Linked DNA regions of Homo sapiens: region 1 is linked to region 2. The links are contacts of gene promoters, found by promoter capture Hi-C in blood cells and fetal thymus (Javierre and others, 2016). All regions are on one chromosome and are shown on one strand. Each heading gives the region's core, a stretch centred on a gene start or on the middle of the fragment in contact. The rest is flanking DNA. Distances are from core to core; before and after follow the strand shown. Region 1 overlaps RIMS1 (regulating synaptic membrane exocytosis 1). Region 2 holds the start of C6orf147 (chromosome 6 open reading frame 147).

Region 1 (3,507 bases), core at 779-3,278, 920 kb before region 2:
GAAGCAGTGCTGTGAAGAAAAATAAAGCACAGCAAAGGGATACTATACAAAGCCTCCCTGAGGAGACAGCCTGTCTTGAAGCAGAAATCTGAATAAGGAGCAAGGCAAGAAAGTCAGAAGAGACAAACAGAAGTAAAAAAGGCCCAGAAGCAGCATGCTTGCAGGCTTGAGGAAATGCAGGGAAGACAGTGTGACTGGAGAGCATTGATCATATGGAATGAGGGGCAGAAGATGAGATGTGAGGTGTCCAAGGACCAGATGATATGGCATTTCCTGGGCCACGATAACAATTTTGGATTTTCATTTTACTTTGGTGATTAATCATTATAAGATCTTGAGCAGGGGAATGATATATTCAGATTTACATTTTTAAAGACTCACCATGGCTGTTATGTCAAGAATATTCTGAGGAGGAAAGGAATAGAAGCAGTGACACTAGCTGTACGGGTATGGCACTGCTCTTTTGAGTGATGATAGTGTCTGGACATAGGGTTGGAGCTGTGGAGAGGAAGAAGAATGACCAGACTTGTGATGCATTTTGAAGGCAAAGCCAAGAGGATTCGCTGATGGATTGGGTGTGGGGTGTGTTAGAGGAATCAAAGATGATTACAAGGATTTAGGCCTTATCACCCAAGTGAATTGTAGTACCATTTACTGTGGGAGGAGGATTTAGTAGTGGGAGGTGGTAGTGTGGTGGAGGTGGGGAAGAGTTCTGTCTTGGATATGTTAATGTTGAAGTGCCTATCAGATCTGTAAATGGAGCTACTAGGCAATTGGATTAATGACTTCAGCATTTATGGGAAAGGTTAAGACCTTGATGTATATTTGGGAGGCACAAGGGCATAGGTGGCTTTGTTAGCTATGTTAAAGCTATGTTAGAGATCACCTAGGAAGTAAGTGTAGAAGAAAGCAAAAGGTCTGAGGCCTGAGGTCTAGGGATTGTCTATTTCTAAAAATCTCAAAGAGGAAAAATCCAGCAGAAGAGACTGGGAAGTAACAACCAATGTCAAAGAAGGAAAAACGGAGAATGTGGATCACAGTAGCCAAGTGAAGAAGCTTGTATAGGTATAAAGAAAAAATAGTTCCCAAATTACTAACCATTGTCTTCCTTGAGTGGTGAAATTATAGGGGGCATTCAATGTTGGCAATTTCTGTAACATTTAAATATTTTGTAATATACATATATTGTCTTTGTAAGCAAAAATAGCAATAAAAAGGTTAAGAACAATAAAAAATAAAAATTTTAATGAACATACTAAATGTGTAGGAAGGATCAGCATTAAGTTCATATAGCATAACCTATTATATCTTTGATTAGACAATTTACAAAAGGAATCCAGTGACCAAAAATGAGAGGGAAAAAATGCAGTGTTTCAAATGGCTTATCTAAGAGTGTATTTAGGTACCTGCTTTGTAAAGGTTTTATGTGGATTGAAAAGTTAATGTGTTTATATAGTAGTTATGTATGTAATTATGTATATAGAGCATTTTTCATATATTATTAATGGGTATTATATGATACTATACAGAAACTAAAGCGAAAACCAGAAATTTATATAGGACGTATAGATGGAATAAAGTCTAACAGTTTTCCTAACCTATTGATACTGCTTATACATGTAAGCAAGTAAATATTTTAGAATTTATTTCCATGCTATGAATAGAATGCTGGTTAGTGCATTTCAAAGTGGCTCAAGAAAATTCCTCTGAGCTTATCAAGAACTGAAATGCAAATGTATGTAATTCCCAGTACAAATGGAGGTGTACACCCCAAACTGCCAGTCAGAACTCATGCAGCTGAGTCAAAAGGCCATGAGGTAGCTGTGTAGTCTTTGAATTAAGATAAAACCTGTTACACCTAACTCCATAATCTATATGGAGTAGAAATAAGTATAAATATTATATAGTGTATGTTAAAGTGCTGCAAAAATCATCAATTAAAATACTAGTTTCTCTTCATGAGGATTGCTGATACGTGACAGTAAAACTGTGGTATTTTTCAAACTGGGTTCCAAATGCACCTTCTCCTTAAAAGAACACGACCTGTCCTTTGGGACTATTCATACACATTTAGTGAATTCCGTATTAGGAGAAACCTATTAGATTGTTCACCATTATCTTTCCACAGAACAGTTGGGTGCCAAATTCAGATTTTCATTGAAGTTGTCACCATCAATAATACAATGATTTCATTTTGGCTGATTGAGATTTAGGCAGTCACTGAAACTGTGGCCATGGCATAGCATCCAGTGGTACTCCCCTTAGCCAAGCATACTTTGGCAAGGAGCCTGAATCAAGCAAAGTACTCCCTTAGGTTACTATTTTTCTGATTAAATTTGTAATTATGTGTAAAATTAACTATTGTATTTGCAGGATCAATTGATATTCAGGAGTAAACTGTCTAAATAAAACTTAGAGTTTCTTTTACTCTCTCCTGTCAGAGTCGGGCCACAAAAAGTTAAAAAGTACCATCCAGAGAAGCACAGAAACAGGCATGGCAGCTGAAATGAGAAAGATGGTAAGGCAGCCGAGCCGAGAGTCTACTGATGGCAGCATCAACAGTTACAGCTCTGAGGGCAAGTAAGTGCTGTCAGCACGTCTGCATGGCTGTGGAACCAGGAATTGTGTACTAATCAGTAAGATAACAAAGCCACTGAGTGTTACTGTGCAGCTTCTCTATTTAATCAGAAGTTCAACCATCCATTTTAAACCACCCTGATGGCTTATAAGTAAGTACACATGGACACACCTCTACACCTGGTCATTCATACCTTTCAAAGGGTGAAGAAATTCTGAGTCCACATGAACAAATTGATTTCTTGCATCTAGGAAAGCCCAGACTAGTTCCTTACTGGATGTTTAGTGTACAAATGCCACAGGTAATGGACTCTTTCATATGGGAAACTCATAGTCTGTCCCTGTCACCAAAGTCCAAGTTAAAATTTATAAGTAAGGAACTGATTTCCCATTTTCTTAATTTTCTCCAAGCTATTTTGGACCCTAAGCTTTTCTAAGTCTAACACTGTCATATATGTAAGTTACATTTTCTTGTTTTTAAAACATTGCTGACTCATTTTTACCTTAGGAAATAATCCAGGGTCTATCAGCTTCATTATTTTTCTGACTAAAATGTTTTAGTTAATTCTGAAAAAATAGAATACGATTTTTAAAAATTTACTCTTTTCGATTCTTTTTCTTTTTTTTTTTTTTTTACCATTTCATATGGATCCTGCACAAAACCTGCTTCTTCCTATGCTTGAGAATATTTCTGGTAAAATTGAATTTTTATTGAGGTAGTGGATCTTACAAATAAGTAATTAATGTGTTGTTTTGGATTACATGGAGATTCACCACATATAAATTTTCCATAATTATTTGTTCATTACCATTCACATTACTCATATACCAATTTGATATTTCTAATTTCTTGTCTTTACTGGAATTTTTCTATATTGTTTAGAAAATTTAACAGAATTATGCCAAGTTACTGTTTGTGATATTCCTTCC
Region 2 (3,535 bases), core at 76-2,575:
GACCTCAAGTGATGGGCCTTGGCCTCCCAAAGTGCAGGGATTACAGGCGTGAGCCAACGCGCCTGGCAGTTTGCATTTTTAAGGAGTTCTCAGGTGATGCTGATTCTGCTGATCGCGGGACTCCGCTTTGAGATCAGCTCTCCTAGGGTATCTAAGTGACGGGGCAGACCCGCAAAAGAGATTTAGTGGAAGATGGCCCCCTAGAGGAGCTGGCCTGGGATTCCTGGGACTTCTAAACCTACAGTGCACAAATGTCCTAGATTTTCCACCTTTGGTTGCTTCTAGCCACAATCTTCCTTCCCAACCACATCTTGCCCTTTCTACTCACAAACCAGGAGGCACACCCAGGGTTTTTTTTAACATGGTGATTTGCAGAACTGTCCTAGGCCTTCAGACTAAGGAGCTGGAGTGATCCTGAAAGATCCCGGAAGCGAAACTCGCCTTTCCGGGCACCTGGGTGAAGGAAGCTTTTCCTACCAGGGCCCCTAAAGCCACTCACCTCGATTTCTGCGGATCCAAAGGTGGAAAGACACTGTCCCGATCAGGAGCATCGCAAGGGTCTGGAGAAAGGGCCATCCATAAATGAAGATCAGGACTCCGTATTCTGAGACTGTTTCAATCACAAATAAGACTCGGAACAGCCTCTGGAAGGCCGACAGCATTTCGCGTTTCTGGCCTGGGAAAGTAAGGGTGCGCTAAGGCACGAGTAGTACAGCTCCTCCCGCCACCGCAGAGCCCGCCGGCGGGAAGAGACCAGACACCGACGGAGAAGCGAAGTTCAGGACGCGAAGGAAAGGGCCACTTCGGGTCGGGGTCAACCCAGACTGGACCAATGCACAGTCTAGGTGGATTAACGCGCCACCGCGAGAAGTGGGCACGGGACCACATGCGGCTGGCAAGACGTCCCAGGGCTCAAGCTCCAGGCTCGGTCACCAAACAACGGTGATAACATCCACAACGCCACGTAAACCATCTTTGGGCCTTGATCGTTTTCCAATAACCGACTGAACTGAGGGCGTGACCAAACGACAAGAACCGGAGGAGAGGACCCGGAGAACGGAGCAGCATCCCGCCGCCCGCCTCCAGGAAAGCCCGAGGCACTGTAGCAGGAGGGTCTGGGCTCCGCGCCTTAATTACACCGCCCTGGACCCGCCTCTTCCGCCGCTCGCTCCTCTGACCGGCACCCGAAGGTGCTGTCCCGCCCACGGACTCGCTCACACTCCGTTTCTTCGATCCTTTAGACGACTTTTTACCGTTCAGGGATGCTCTCCGTTACCGCCTCTGCCATTTGGTTGCCCTCCCTGCGGTCCAAGGGCCTGGAACACTCCCCAGGGCTGCCAGGCCAGCGCTTTCCAGGGGCTCCAGCCTACAGCGCCGCCACCTGGGGCTGGAGCCAGAAACGCAGGGGCCGGGGGCTCACCGGCTGCCAAGTAGAGGGCGTCGAAAATGGGGCTGGGTGTGTAAGAATGCTTGTGATTTTTGCACACTGATTTTGTATCCCGAGACTTTGCTGAAGTTGCTTATCAGCCTAAGGAGATTTCGGGCTGAGAAGATGAGGTTTTCTAAATATACAATCATGTCATCTGCAAACGGACAATTTGACTTCCTCTTTTCCTAATTGAATATTCTTTATTTCTTTCTCCTGCCTGATTGCCCTGGCCAGAACTTCCAACACTATGTTGAATAGCAGTGGTGAGAGAGGACATCCCTGTCTTGTGCCAGTTTTCTAAGGGAATGCTTCCAGTTTTTGCCTATTCAGTACGATATTGGCTGTGGGTTTGTCATAAACAGCTGTTATTATTTTTAGATACGTCCCATCAATACCTAATTTATTGAGTGTTTTTAGCATGAAGCGCTGTTGAATTTTGTCAAAGGCCTTTTCTGCATCTATTGAGATAATCATGTGGTTTTTTTTCTTTGGTTCTGTTTATATGATGGATTATGTTTATTGATTTGCATATGTTGAACCAGCCTTGCATCCCAGGGATGAAGCCCACTTGATCATGGTGGATAAGCTTTTTGATGTGCTGCTGGATTTGGTTTGCCAGTATTTTATTGAGGATTTTTGCATCGATGTTCATCAGGGATATTGGTCTAAAATTCTCTTTTTTTGTTGTGTCTCTGCCAGGCTTTGGTATCAGGATGATGCTGGCCTCATAAAATGAGTTAGGGAGGATTCCCTCTTTTTCTATTGATTGGAATAGTTTCAGAAGGACTAGTACCAGCTCTTCCTTGTACCTCTGGTAGAATTCGGCTGTGAATCCTTCTGGTCCTGGACTTTTTTGGTTGGTAGGCTATTAATTATTGGCTCAATTTCAGAGCCTGTTATTGGTCTATTCAGGGATTCAGTTTTTTCCTGGTTTAGTCTTGGGAGGGTGTATGTGTCCAGGAATTTATCCATTTCTTCTCGATTTTCTAGTTTATTTGCATAGAGGTGTTTATAATATTCTCTGATGGTAGTTTGTATTTCTGTGGGATCAGTGGTGATATCCCCTTTATCATTTTTTATTGCGTCTATTTGATTCTTCTCTCTTTTCTTCTTTATTAGTCTTGCTAGCTATCAATTTTGTTGATCTTTTCAAAAAAGCAGCTCCTGGATTCATTGATTTTTTGAAGGGTTTTTGTGTCTCTATCTCCTTCAGTTCTGCTCTGATCTTAGTTATTTATTGCCTTCTGCTAGCTTTTGAATGTGTTTGCTCTTGCTTCTCTAGTTTTTTTAATTGTGATGTTAGGGTGTCAATTTTAGATCTTTCCTGCTTTCTCTTGTGGGTATTTAGTGCTATAAATTTCCCTCTACACACTGCTTTAAATGTGTCCCAGAGATTCTGGTATGTTGTGTCTTTGTTCTCATTGGTTTCAAATAACATCTTTATTTCTGCCTTCATTTCATTATGTACCCAGTAGTCATTCAGGGGCAGGTTGTTCAGTTTCCATGTAGTTGAGCAGTTATGAGTGAGTTTCTTAATCCTGAGTTCCAGTTTGATTGCACTGTGGTCTGAGAGACAGTTTGTTATAATTTCTGTTCTTTTACATTTGCTGAGGAGTGCTTTACTTCCAACTATGTGGTCAATTTTGGAATAAGTGCGGTGTGGTGCTGAGAAGAATGTATATTATGTTGATTTGGGGTGGAGAGTTCTGTAGACGTCTGTTAGGTCTGCTTGGTGCAGAGCTGAGTTCAATTCCTGGATATCTTTTTTAACTTTCTGTCTCATTGATCTGTCTAATGTTGACAGTGGGGTGTTAAATTCTCCCATTATTATTGTGTGGGAGTCTAAGTCTCTTTGTAGGTCTCTAAGGACTTGCTTTATGAATCTGGGTACTCCTGTATTGGGTGCATATATATTTAGGATAGTTAGCTCTTCTTGTTGAATTGATCCCTTTACCATTATGTAGTGGCCTTCTTTGTCTCTTTTGATCTTTGTTGGTTTAAAGTCTGTTTTATCAGAGACTAGAAATGCAACCCCTGCCTTTTTTTGTTTTCCATTTGCTTGGTAGATCTTCCTCCATCCCTTTATTTTGAGCCTATGTGTGTCTC

The links. The method cuts DNA at HindIII sites, captures the fragments that hold promoters and counts their contacts. A CHiCAGO score of 5 or more calls a contact.
Region 1: a contact is called between a fragment that was not itself captured here and the fragment with the promoter of C6orf147 in region 2, in 3 of 17 cell types (total B cells, naive CD8 T cells and naive B cells). The highest score is 10.2, in total B cells.

The regions. Positions count from the first base shown.
Region 1 is chr6:72,388,157-72,391,663 of GRCh38, forward strand. It overlaps RIMS1 (regulating synaptic membrane exocytosis 1), which reads left to right. Exons shown (of 34, transcript NM_014989.7): 30 at 2,442-2,580. Among named protein-coding and RNA genes, the nearest start is that of KCNQ5, 230 kb to the right of the region's middle. RefSeq lists a silencer at 2,558-2,758. The HindIII fragment of the contact is 1,949 bases long and covers 1,055-3,003 here.
Region 2 is chr6:73,309,053-73,312,587 of GRCh38, forward strand. It overlaps C6orf147 (chromosome 6 open reading frame 147), which reads right to left and starts at 1,326. Exons shown (of 5, transcript NR_027005.4): 1 at 1,254-1,326; 2 at 500-676. It overlaps LOC122539213 (KHDC1-KHDC1L), which reads right to left and starts at 1,107. Exons shown (of 7, transcript NR_173146.1): 1 at 500-1,107. It also overlaps a transcript of KHDC1 not described here. RefSeq lists enhancers at 625-694, 1,215-1,474. The HindIII fragment of the contact is 1,548 bases long and covers 466-2,013 here.